Linked DNA regions of Homo sapiens: regions 1, 3 and 4 are each linked to region 2. Evidence: promoter capture Hi-C in 16 types of primary human blood cells and fetal thymus (Javierre and others, 2016). All regions are on one chromosome and are shown on one strand. The core of a region is centred on a gene start or on the middle of the fragment in contact, and the rest is flanking DNA. Distances in the headings are between cores, read along the strand shown. Region 1 has its middle 150 kb from the start of PTGER4. Region 2 holds the start of PTGER4 (prostaglandin E receptor 4). Region 3 has its middle 220 kb from the start of PTGER4. Region 4 has its middle 200 kb from the start of PTGER4.

What was found. The method cuts DNA at HindIII sites, captures the fragments that hold promoters and counts their contacts. A CHiCAGO score of 5 or more calls a contact.
Region 1: a contact is called between a fragment that was not itself captured here and the fragment with the promoter of PTGER4 in region 2, in 2 of 17 cell types (naive CD4 T cells and activated CD4 T cells). The highest score is 5.3, in naive CD4 T cells.
Region 3: a contact is called between a fragment that was not itself captured here and the fragment with the promoter of PTGER4 in region 2, in 1 of 17 cell types (fetal thymus). The highest score is 5.2, in fetal thymus.
Region 4: a contact is called between a fragment that was not itself captured here and the fragment with the promoter of PTGER4 in region 2, in 3 of 17 cell types (activated CD4 T cells, total CD8 T cells and naive CD8 T cells). The highest score is 7.4, in activated CD4 T cells.

Annotation. Positions count from the first base shown.
Region 1 is chr5:40,524,794-40,527,493 of GRCh38, reverse strand. No RefSeq gene overlaps it. Among named protein-coding and RNA genes, the nearest start is that of PTGER4, 150 kb to the left of the region's middle. The HindIII fragment of the contact is 452 bases long and covers 1,037-1,488 here.
Region 2 is chr5:40,678,587-40,681,286 of GRCh38, reverse strand. It overlaps PTGER4 (prostaglandin E receptor 4), which reads right to left and starts at 1,372. Exons shown (of 3, transcript NM_000958.3): 1 at 809-1,372; 2 at 1-336. The coding sequence starts at 293. RefSeq lists an enhancer at 1-354 and a silencer at 1,490-1,709. The HindIII fragment of the contact is 6,362 bases long and covers 1-2,700 here.
Region 3 is chr5:40,459,020-40,461,719 of GRCh38, reverse strand. No RefSeq gene overlaps it. Among named protein-coding and RNA genes, the nearest start is that of PTGER4, 220 kb to the left of the region's middle. The HindIII fragment of the contact is 9,349 bases long and covers 1-2,700 here.
Region 4 is chr5:40,476,329-40,479,028 of GRCh38, reverse strand. No RefSeq gene overlaps it. Among named protein-coding and RNA genes, the nearest start is that of PTGER4, 200 kb to the left of the region's middle. The HindIII fragment of the contact is 2,229 bases long and covers 256-2,484 here.

The DNA of each region.
Region 1 (2,700 bases), core at 13-2,512, 150 kb after region 2:
ACATAACACACAGCTCAGTGCATAAGGCACAAATATTCAACTTCATAAAACTTGTTTGAATTTCTATTTTCAGATTTGGGAAGCTACTGTCAAGGTTACTTAAGAAGTAGGACCCAGTGTATTTCCATGTGAAATTCATAGGCACGGGAGATGCCAGATAATGACAATGCTCTATTTTACTAAGAAGCACATTTTACTGAATAGAGTAAGCAATCTTTCCAAGGGAGAAATTCATCTGAGATGCTTCACAGTTATTAAGCAAAATACCCGCTCAATCATGTGGTGTATTTTCTATGGTTTTTGCTTTATTAATTTCAGGTGTATTTTGATTATAAAGACATTTTATGCATTTTATAATCTCTTATGTTTTCCAATAAATACAAACCTGGAGTGCTTTTTTATCTCTTCGCATTCTTTTAGAGGTGTGATGAGTATCAAATAAGGCAATAATTTTGAAACGCTTAATAGAAAATGTCACCATTGATTGTTATTATTGTATTATAAATAGGTATTCTTTCTTGAAAAGATGGCTTAATTTATTACATCATGATTTGACTAATACATTCAAATTAACTTTGTCTGAAATGATTTTATAAAATCCTCTACTTTTGAAAAAATAGATTTATTTTTTAGAGTAATTTTAGACTTACAAAAAAATTGAGGTGATAATATAGAGAATACCTACATACCCCACACCAGTTTCCCCTATGATTATCATCTTATATTAGTATGGTACATTTATTACAATTAATAGACAGTATTAATTGATTCACTATTATTAACTAAAGTCCATAGTTCAGTCAAATTTCCTTGGATTTTACCTGATGTCCTTCTGTTCCAACATCTCATCTAGTTATCACATTACATTTAGTTGGCATGCCTTCTTAAGCTTCTCTCAGTTGTCACGGTCTCAGACTTTTTTTGTTCTCTGACCACCTGGACATTTTCAGGAGTACTGGTCAGGTATTTTGTGGAATGCCCACTGTTAAATTTGTCTGTTTTTTCATGATTAGATTGAGGTTTTGGAGAGGAAGCTTACAAAGATAAAATGATGTTGTTTTCATACGTCAAAGGTTCATACTGCACTGTTGATGTTGATTGTGATCACCTGGTCAAGGTAATGTTTGTTAGGCCTCTCCACTCTAAAGTTATTCTCCTCTGGCCTCTTTCTTGCTGTGCTTTTGGTAAGGAAGTCACTATGTGTGGCCCACACTTAGGGAGTGAGGAGTTATGCCCCCACTCCTTGCTGGTAGATTATCTACATAAATTATTTGGAATTCTTCATGGCAGATTTGCCTCTTCTCCCTCATATATGTATTTATGCAATCATTTATTTATATCAGTATGAACTCATGAATATTTATTTTATACTTTGTGTTGTAATTGAATTCTACTTTATTTGTTGCTTAAATTGTTCCAGCATTGGCCATTGGGAGCTCTTTCTGTGGCTCCTATGTCCCTTTGACATATACTAATCAAAGTGAAGCTTTTTTCGTTTTTTTTTTCTTTTTTTAGCACTTTCTTACTTCTGGCACTATAAGATGTTCCAGGCTTATCATGTATATTTCTTGCCCTTCTCCTAGAATCAGTCATTTTTTCCAAGGAGCCCTGGTTTCTTTTATCAGAAAGTAGGGGTAGAAACCAAAATTCAAGTGCTAAGCGTACTCATCATTACTAGGGCATTATTGCTTTTAGGTATTCTCAGCTGACAGAGCAAGGAAATATACATGTGCATACTAACCCATGTATATGCTTATATTCATAAGTATTTCTATATGTAAGCGTAGGCATGTATATTAAGCTAAACATGAGATTACACTGATTGCTCCAACTCTAGTCAATTTTCAAAAAGTCTCACTGCGCTAAAAGAGCTTCACTAGACTAAAAATGCCTACGTGCATCACCTTCTCTCCCCGAGCTCCTGGAGGCCAGTTATCTTTTTACTGTTTACTTTTCAGAATGTTATATAATTAGAATCATACAGTATGACTCTCTCTACTTTTTAAGATGTAGTAAATAATGACCCTTAAGCTCATACTTTTCTAAATATATTTCCAACTACAATTTTCTGAAGTACATCTTGTCATTTATATGCATTCAGTGTGAAGAAATTTAAAAAGTCTAAAGCACACTTCACTGTTAAGTTCTTTTTATTTCAAATATTGCATTTTAACTTTTTTTATTTTTATGAATACATAATAGGTGTGTATGTTTGTGGAGTATATGAGATAATTGCATCAGGGTAAATGGGGTATCCATTACCTCAAGCATTTATCATTTCTTTGTGTTACAAGCAATCCAATTACACTCTTTAACTTATTCTAAAATGTACTATTTATTTTCATTGACTGTAATCACCTTGTTGTGCTATCAAGTGAATAAGATCTTTTGATCTTATATATGTATCTAACTATATTTTTGTACCCATTAATTATCCTCACATCCCTCCCCCTTTCCCAACTACCTTTCCCAGCCTCTGGTAACCATCATTCTATTCTTTATCTCCATTAGTTCAATCATTTTCATTTTTAGCTCTTGCAAATGAAAGAGAATATGCAAAGTTTGTTTTTCTGTGCTTGGTTTATTCCATTTAGCATAATGACCTCCAGTTTCACCCATGGTGTTGCAAATGATGTAATCTCCTTCTTTTGTTATGTCTAAATAGTACTCCATTGTGTATATCCATTCATTTTATCCATT
Region 2 (2,700 bases), core at 123-2,622:
ATGAAGGTGCTGTACTCGCACAGCGGCTGGCCCCCGGGCCATTGGCCCTTCATGTACGTGGCGATGGTCACCGGGCTCACCAACAAAGTGCCCAACAGGTCGGTGACAGCCAGCCCACATACCAGCGTGTAGAAGGTCGTCTCCTTCTGCTCCTTGCGCGACTTGCACAGCACCACGATGGCCACCAGGTTGCCCACCACCCCGAAGATGAACATCACCGCCGGGATGGTCACTGGGCTGTTCAGCCGGTCGGGGCTCAAGGAGGCGGACGAATTGACCCCGGGAGTGGACATGATAGTGGCTGGCGGTGCGCAGCCTTGGAGTGCAAGGCTGGGTCTGGGGATGGTAGAAGAGAGACAAAGCTGCCGTGAGCGGAAATTACCACTTGTAAGGTGTTAGACCCGCGCCCGAGAAACGATACACTGATAAGACAAGGGGAGCAACTCGATCCTACTTTCTGGATTGTAGCCACTTACCAACTGCGGCCACCAAAATCTCCAGGCTCGCGATACGTCCTGCCAACAGCACACTCTTGCTGACATTAATATTTATAAACTGATTTTCCCATTCCTCTTCCTCCCCACAATCCAACTCACTCCATTGCCAAGATGAATAAGACCCATCTCAAGGGAAAAGTAGCTCGCTAGTGCTATTCTCGATAGATTCTGAATCAATAAAATGCTCACTGAAAACAAGTTACAAAAGCAATTTGGAGAGCGCGCTCTTCCCTTCTTGGCTCTCTTCGGCGAGGGCCGCATCCCTGCGTTCTCTACCCGTTGACCCCAACGTCAGCCCAACGCCATCTCACCTGTAGCGGCAGCAGCGGTGGCAGCCTCACGAGCCCCCAGGGTCAGCCCTCAGATGTCCTGGACCCGCCTCCAACCTGCTTTCACCTTGTCCTGCTCAGTCTGGAAACTGCCAAATCTTCGGCTTCTCAAAGCCGGTCTCAGTGGCTGTCGATTTTTGGACACCGAGGTCAGAGTTGCCAGCTTTCAAAAACTTGGGAAACAAGAGGTGCAGCGGGATGGGTCAGTGAAGAATGGTGCTGGATTTCTTACTCGCTATTTTTTTTCCTTCAAAGACGAGTCCCAGCTTTGCAGTGCCCGCCGGTCTCGTCTGCGGGAGGACAGCGTTCAGGTGTGAGGCTGTGCGCGCAGGTGGCGCGGAGCCTTGGTCCCCAGCTCTGGCTGCCCTCCGCCCCAGCCACGGGCAGCACGGGCGGCTACTGGAGTTTGCGGCTGCCGCTGAGGCCGCTCCTGGCTACCTGGGGGCGGCTCGGGGTCCACTCTGCCAGAGGCTCTGGCCTGGGGCTGTTCATCTTCCTCTCGGGCTGCCGGGCTTGGAGCTCCGCTCTCGCCTTTCCACCCTCTGTACAAACTTTTCTCCTCCTCCAAGTTTCCCTGGCGGAGGCGGAGGCAAACCGCGCGCTGCCCGGGCGCCCATTGGCCGGATTGGAAGGGGGCGGAGCGCGTCCTCCCTGGGCGCCGCAGGGAAGACTGGCGGGGGGCGGTGTCTGGGCTGGGGCGGGGCTGGGCGCGCGGGGTGGGGCGGCTCCCGTGGTTTTCACGCCCTCGGAGGTGCGGAGTGGGAACTCGGAGGGGACCCTGGGAAGCCCCGGTGCTTTCCCCGGCGACCGCTTAGCCGCTCCTGAACTCGGCTTCCAGTGGGGCCACCACTGAAACCGGCGACCGTTTCCGCCTCGCTGCCTGCCGCTCGGAGTGTACTATTTCTTGAACCTCCTGTCCGCGGGCCGCAACATCTAGATCGTGGAAGAGAGGGCAGTTGTTTTAGGATTCTACCTAGGGTTGGCCGAGAAAGGAGAAGAAATACGGTGTCTGCGCTAGCGCGTGCGCCCCGGGGTTAGACTTGGGTGCGCCCAGCGGACGTGGTAGGTGGGTGGGTGGGTGGGTACCAGATTGGGCGGGGAAATAACGAAGAATCCATCCTCTCACCATAAAAGGAGTTGGAGTCAGTTGGCAGTGCCCAGACTGCGGGCTGCGCTTGGTCGGGCACCCCAGGCAAAAAAGAAAAAAAAAAAAGAGAAAGAAAGAGGAGGAGACAGTGATTGCAGCCTCTCCCGGCGCAGGTGGCAGAGCCTTGCGGCTTTGGAGAGAGGTGGAGCCTTGGTGAGGTTGGGAGGACTGCCTAACTGCGATCTTTTTCTCCATTCTTCCTCCTGGGAACTTCTCCGCCCTGAAAGGGTAGCGTGAGCTTCATGCCTTCGGCCGGCCGTGTTATACTCGTTAGACCCAATTCACCATGAATCCTTTGAAAGACTAGTGGAGAGTGAGAAGGGGGTTTCAAAGTCACTGGAGTAAAGGAATTCTCCAAGCACCACCTCATGATTAATTCTTGGAAAAGCCTGTTTGCGCGGCCCTTAGAATCATTTTGACTTCTTGTCTAATGGTGAAGTTTTTCTCTGTAATCCTTCTACTCTGTTTTCTAAAACCAGAACTAAAAACCTAAAAAATTGTAAAACTTCATGGTGTAATTAAAACCCCTTCACCATTTTTTTTAAGTAAGATTGTGTGGCCTTATTGCACAATTTAAATTCCTGGAAAAACCTCTTCCCATCTGCAGTGTACAAGCATTCTAACATATTATGTCTCCTCACAGGGTAAGTAAATAACTGGATTCTTTTATGTGATAAGCAGGTACCCATTTCTTAAATGTTATTTCGTGAACGAACAAACCTCCTAA
Region 3 (2,700 bases), core at 197-2,696, 220 kb after region 2:
TGATGCTTCCAGCTTTGTTCTTTTTGCTCACAATCCTTTGATTTATTTGGGGTCTTCTGTGGTTCTCTACAAATTTTAGGATTTTTTTTTCTATTTCTGTGAAGAATATTATTGGCATTTTGATAGGCACTACATTGAATCTATAGATTATTTGAATGGTATGAACTTTTTTTTATTTCTTCTTTGTTTATCTGCCCTATCAATGAGTTATATATTTTTGCATGTTTTCATGATTGTGATTATCACCTTTTTGTCTCCAGATGCAGGACTCTTTTCAGCATTTTTTGTAAAGTCAGTCTAGTGATAGATTTCCTTATACTTTTGCTTGTCTGGGAATGGCTTTATTCCTCCCTCAGTCTAAGAAATAGCTTTGTTGAGTATAGTATTCTTGACTGTCAATTTCTTCTTTCAGTACTTTGAATATATCATTTTATTCTCTCCTGACCTGTAAGGTTTCTGAAGAGAAACCTAATGTGAGTCTAATGAATATTCCTTTATATGTGACTTGGTGCTTTTCTCTTGTTTTAGAATTCTTTTTGTCTTTGACTTTTGATATTTTGACTATTTTTTACCTTGGACAGTACCTTTCTGATTGAAATATAGTTTGGGATCTTTGGACTTCCTGGATCTGGATGTTTATATCTGTCTCCAGATTTGGGAAATTTTCAGCTATTATTTTATTAAATAGGTTTTCTATGCATTTTTTCCATTTTTTTTCATTCTGGAATGTCTATAATGAATATTTGTCTACTTAATGGTGTCTCATAAGTTTACAATCTTTTAAGAGCTATTTTCCATTCTTATTTTTTCTAACCAAATAATTTCAAATGACCTGCCTTCAAGTTCAGAGATTCTTCTGTTTGATCAAATCTGCTGTTGAAGCTCTGTGTTGTTTTTTTATTTCATTCATTGAATTCTTTAGTTGCATGATTTGTTTTTTTTCTTTTTTATATCTGTCTTTTTGTTGAATTTCTCATGCATATGTTTTTTCCTGATTTTGTTGAATTGTCTAACTGTATTTTTTATACCTCATTCAGTTTCCTTAAGATCATAATTTTGAATTCCTTTTCTGGTTCTCCATTAATTTTCCTTTTATTGGGGTTTGTTACTAAAAAGTTTTCCTTTAGTAGAGTTACATTTCCTTGCTTTTTCCTGTTTCTTATGTCCTTCCATTGAGTGGAACAATCACCCCTTCCAAACTTTCCAAAGTTAACCCCAAAGTCTTAACTAATACTAGCCCCAACTCAAAAGTCCAAAGTTCAGAATCCCATCTGTGAGCCTGTGAAATCAAGACTAGTTTTTTTTTTTTTTTTTTTTTGAGACGGAATCTCACTGTCGCCAGGCTGGAGTGCAGTGGCGCGATCTCAGCTCACTGCAAACTCTGCCCTCCGAGTTCAAGCGATTCTCCTGCCTCAGCCTCCCGAATAGCTGGGATTACAAGCACCTGCCACTGCACCCGGCTAATTAAGACTAGTTATTAACTTCCAACATACAGTAGTGGTTCAGGCATAAGACAGACACTTCTATTTTAACAGGGAGGAATAGGCAAAGAGAAATGAGTAACAAGCTCAAGCATGTTAGAAACTGAGTAGGACAGACATTAAATCTTTAAGCTGAGGAATGATTTCTTTTGACTCCATGTGTCACCTTCTGGACACACTGGGATGGGGTTTGGGCCCCCAAGGCCTTAGGCAGTCCTATGGGCTTTGCTTGGTGCAGCCCACGTGACTGCTTATGCAGAATAAAGTCCTTTGCCTAAGGCTTCCTTTGGTAGATGTTTCATGCTGCTGGTGGTTCCATAATTCTGAGATCTCAGTGGTAGTCCTGAGTTCCTTAGGCATTACTCTAACAGGGACTCTTGGTGGCAGCTCCAACTTCACATTTCTCCTCTGCTTTATTATACCAGGGATCTTTACAGTAGCTCTGCCTGGGTCTCTAGGCTTTCAGCAACATCTTTTGAAATTTGGGTGGAAGTTGTCAATCTTCCATAGCTCTTGCTTTCTGCAAGCCTGCAGAATTAGTACCACATGGATGTTGTCAAAATTTATAACTTGTACCTTCTGGAGCTGCAGCATGAGCTGCACCTGAGGCTTCTTGAGCCATGGCTAAGGCAGCTGCAGAACTGCTGTGCTGGGGTGTGGGTAGCAGAGTCCCAAAATGGCCCTGACAAGTGAATCTGTGTACTCTGGGGCTGTTCCTTGACACCATTCTGCTCTCCTAAGCCTGTGATGGGAGTGGCATCTTCAAATATCTGGGCAATATCTTTGGGGGTATTTCTTCCATTGTCTTGACAAATAGCACATGGCTGCCTTCTGTCTCTGCTAATCTCCTTAGAAAGTGGTCCATCAGCTACACTCCGTTTCTCTCCTGAAAACATTTTTTTCATTCTTTTTGTGGTCAAATGGTTTTCCAAATTTTTCTGCTCTGCTTCCTTTTTAACTATTAATTCTGTCTTTAAATTATTACTTTGCTCTTGTATCTCAGTGTAAATGGCCAAAGGTAACTATGAATGCCTTCTATACCTTACTTAATTTTTTTTTGTGCCAGATATTCTAGTACATCTTTCTCAAGTTTGGACTTCCACAAAGACCTCAGTCACAGACAGAGTCCAGCTAAGTGCTTTGACAATTTATAACAAGAATGGCCTTTACTTGACTTTCCAATATCTTTTTCCTCAGTTTCTCCTAAAACTTCATCACA
Region 4 (2,700 bases), core at 121-2,620, 200 kb after region 2:
GGGGTGCCTTGGCTTGAATCCCAATCCTACCTCCTTAGTGGCCAAGTCATCTTTGAAAAATCACTTAATCTCTGTGCATCTGTTTCTGTGTCTTATAATAGGGATAATAATAGTATCTGGTTCAGAAGGTTGTTGTGAAGATTAAAATAGTTCATATATGCAAAGCCTTTAAAATAGTGACTAGTACTACATAAATGTTAGCTATCATTCCTATCATTTTTAGGATCTAGCAGAGCTTTGTAGGGAGTAGAAGCTTAATCGTGGCCATTAATTAACTTGATTCTGCAGAACTGCAGACCCGGAAGAGCTTTCTGATGTCATGTGGCCCGTGTTTCCTAAACTTGCTTATGTGAAGACTTTCCTGGGTCACTTGTTAAAATGCAAACTCCTGAATACTAACTAAACTTAGTATTCAGTAACTGCTAAACATACTGAACCAGCATCTGCAGGGAGCAGTCTGAAAATCTGTATTTAAAATAAATGTCCTACAAGATACTGATGATTAGGTAAGTTCAAGTTGGAAACTGTAGTATCTAACTATTATCTTTCACAGAGAAAGCTAAGCACTTGGGAGAAGTGGCTCACTCAGTGTTAAAGTTAGTGGTGGAACTGGGACCAGAACCCGGGTCCCTGTCCTTGGTCCTGTGTTATTCCCATTGCATCTCTTTTCTCTGTGATGTCTCTGGTGCTTCTGTCCAAGTGCCCGAGTTTGGCCGGATAGAAGAAATAGTTTCAGGATGACTTTACCAAAGTATTATTTGGCTGTGGGCAGAAATTATCTGCCAGAGGGGTACAAGAGTTCTCTCTTCTTTAGGTGGATTTTGAGCTCCCATATTTATTCTTGAATTGTGCTTCTAGGATAATGATCTCTGGAAACCTGCATGCCCTGAGTGATCTCAAAGTCTGGTAACTGTTCTTGCGGTCCTGTTTGCACAGGAACAGAAATTCATTTCAAAGTGCAGCCAGTGCCAACAGGGGAGAGTGGGCAGAGAAATCAAATGAAAATGCCAAAACGCTGACTACACGGCCAGTTTGCATCATGTGAACCACTTTGGAGCCTGAGGACAGAAACCAAAAATATGCTTCTGTTCAGAGGCGGCTAACAGCACTAGTGTTATTATTGTTATCATCATCATCACCACCATCATTCGTCCATAAATTTAAAAGTAGGTAGCTGGACTGTGTTTTTTTTTCTAGGAGTTCTGCATGAAGTTCAGAGCTATGATGAATTTTAGAGAAATAAGTGTGGAGGCATGCATGGTCCCATAACTTAGCCCCCTCAGCTGGAACCACAGCTCTCTTGCCCCCAATTGTTCAGTACAGCCTTGTCATCACAGTGAGAACAGTTTTACACACTCAGGGCTTGTTCTAACAGTAAAGAAGCCAAAAAAGAAATGTGTAAAGTAAACTGATGTTTAAGAATTCTGGTAGGGAATTAGGATTCTTTGCTGCAGAAGAGAGGACTGAAGGCTGAAGCAAGGACAACATGACGGGGAGGGAGGTGACTGGGAAGTACAGCCCTTTATTCCTGGAGAGGAGGTGAAGTCCTTGAACTTGAAGAGATTTAGAGATCAAAATATAAGATGTAATTGGAGTCCAGGTCCTCAGGGGAAGTGCCAATTTAAACTCTGTGGGTGGGATTGGACCTTACAGGCAGAAGAAGAAATTAAACTGAGTACCTTAAAAACAACAACAAAAAGCACCACCTGTGTATATGTCCATTTCTTTATTCACTCAGCCTAGTTCTGCTGCTCTGTATAACAAATCCAGCTCCTCCTTTTACAGGAGAAGGTGGTGAACCTCAGGTGGAAATTCATAGTTTTCTTTTGAAGGCAAAGTCTTTGTTTCTAATCTGACTCTTACAGAGCCAGAAGCTCCTTTTCCAAGGCAGAGCTGAGGAGCATAGGGGTGACTCCCAAAGTGTGGCAAAGGGGAGATTTCACCTGTTCTAGCCATACTCTTGTTGTTATCCAGCAAAAATTTGTTTTAAACTTCTTTAACAATTTACTTACATTCAACATGGCCTAAATTATAAGGGAAATCAAATGCAGGATATAGAATTCTATGTTTTTTTGCTAAACAATCCTGGACTAAGCAACATTTTCTCACATCTACAATGCAGTTATTACTGATGTTCATGTTGATGACATTTAGGCACTAAAAGGTTCCAGAATGTTTTCTTATTTATTAAGCAATATCAAACTATATTGATTCTAATGTTATTGTGGATTAGTAGATATTCAGAAATAAAATGAAAATTGGAGCTTCCATGATAGTCCCCTTTAAATTCAGATAAAGAATTGGAAATGTAGAGTAATTAAATGACTTGCCCAAAGTCACACTATCTGTTGAGTAGCAGAGCTGGGATTTGATTTATCTTTATATTCCTGTTACTGAATTTGGCCAGTTCATAGAGGTGTTTCTTCTCTAGTAGCTTGAATTTGTGATCTACTGTGTGGTCAGCACTAACCTATATTCTAAGCTTGGGTGTGTGTGTTTAAGAGCAGAACAAATATAGAAAATGGTACCAGTTCTCCAAATACACGCAAGCCTAGTCAAGGATATGGGACTTACACAGGTGAAACAATAGAGAATGGTACAATTCAGTGGTGCTTCCCATGCCTTCATGGGCATGAAAATCACCTGCATGTCTTGTTAAAACACAGATTCTGGTTTAGGAGCTGGAGATTCTGTGTTTCT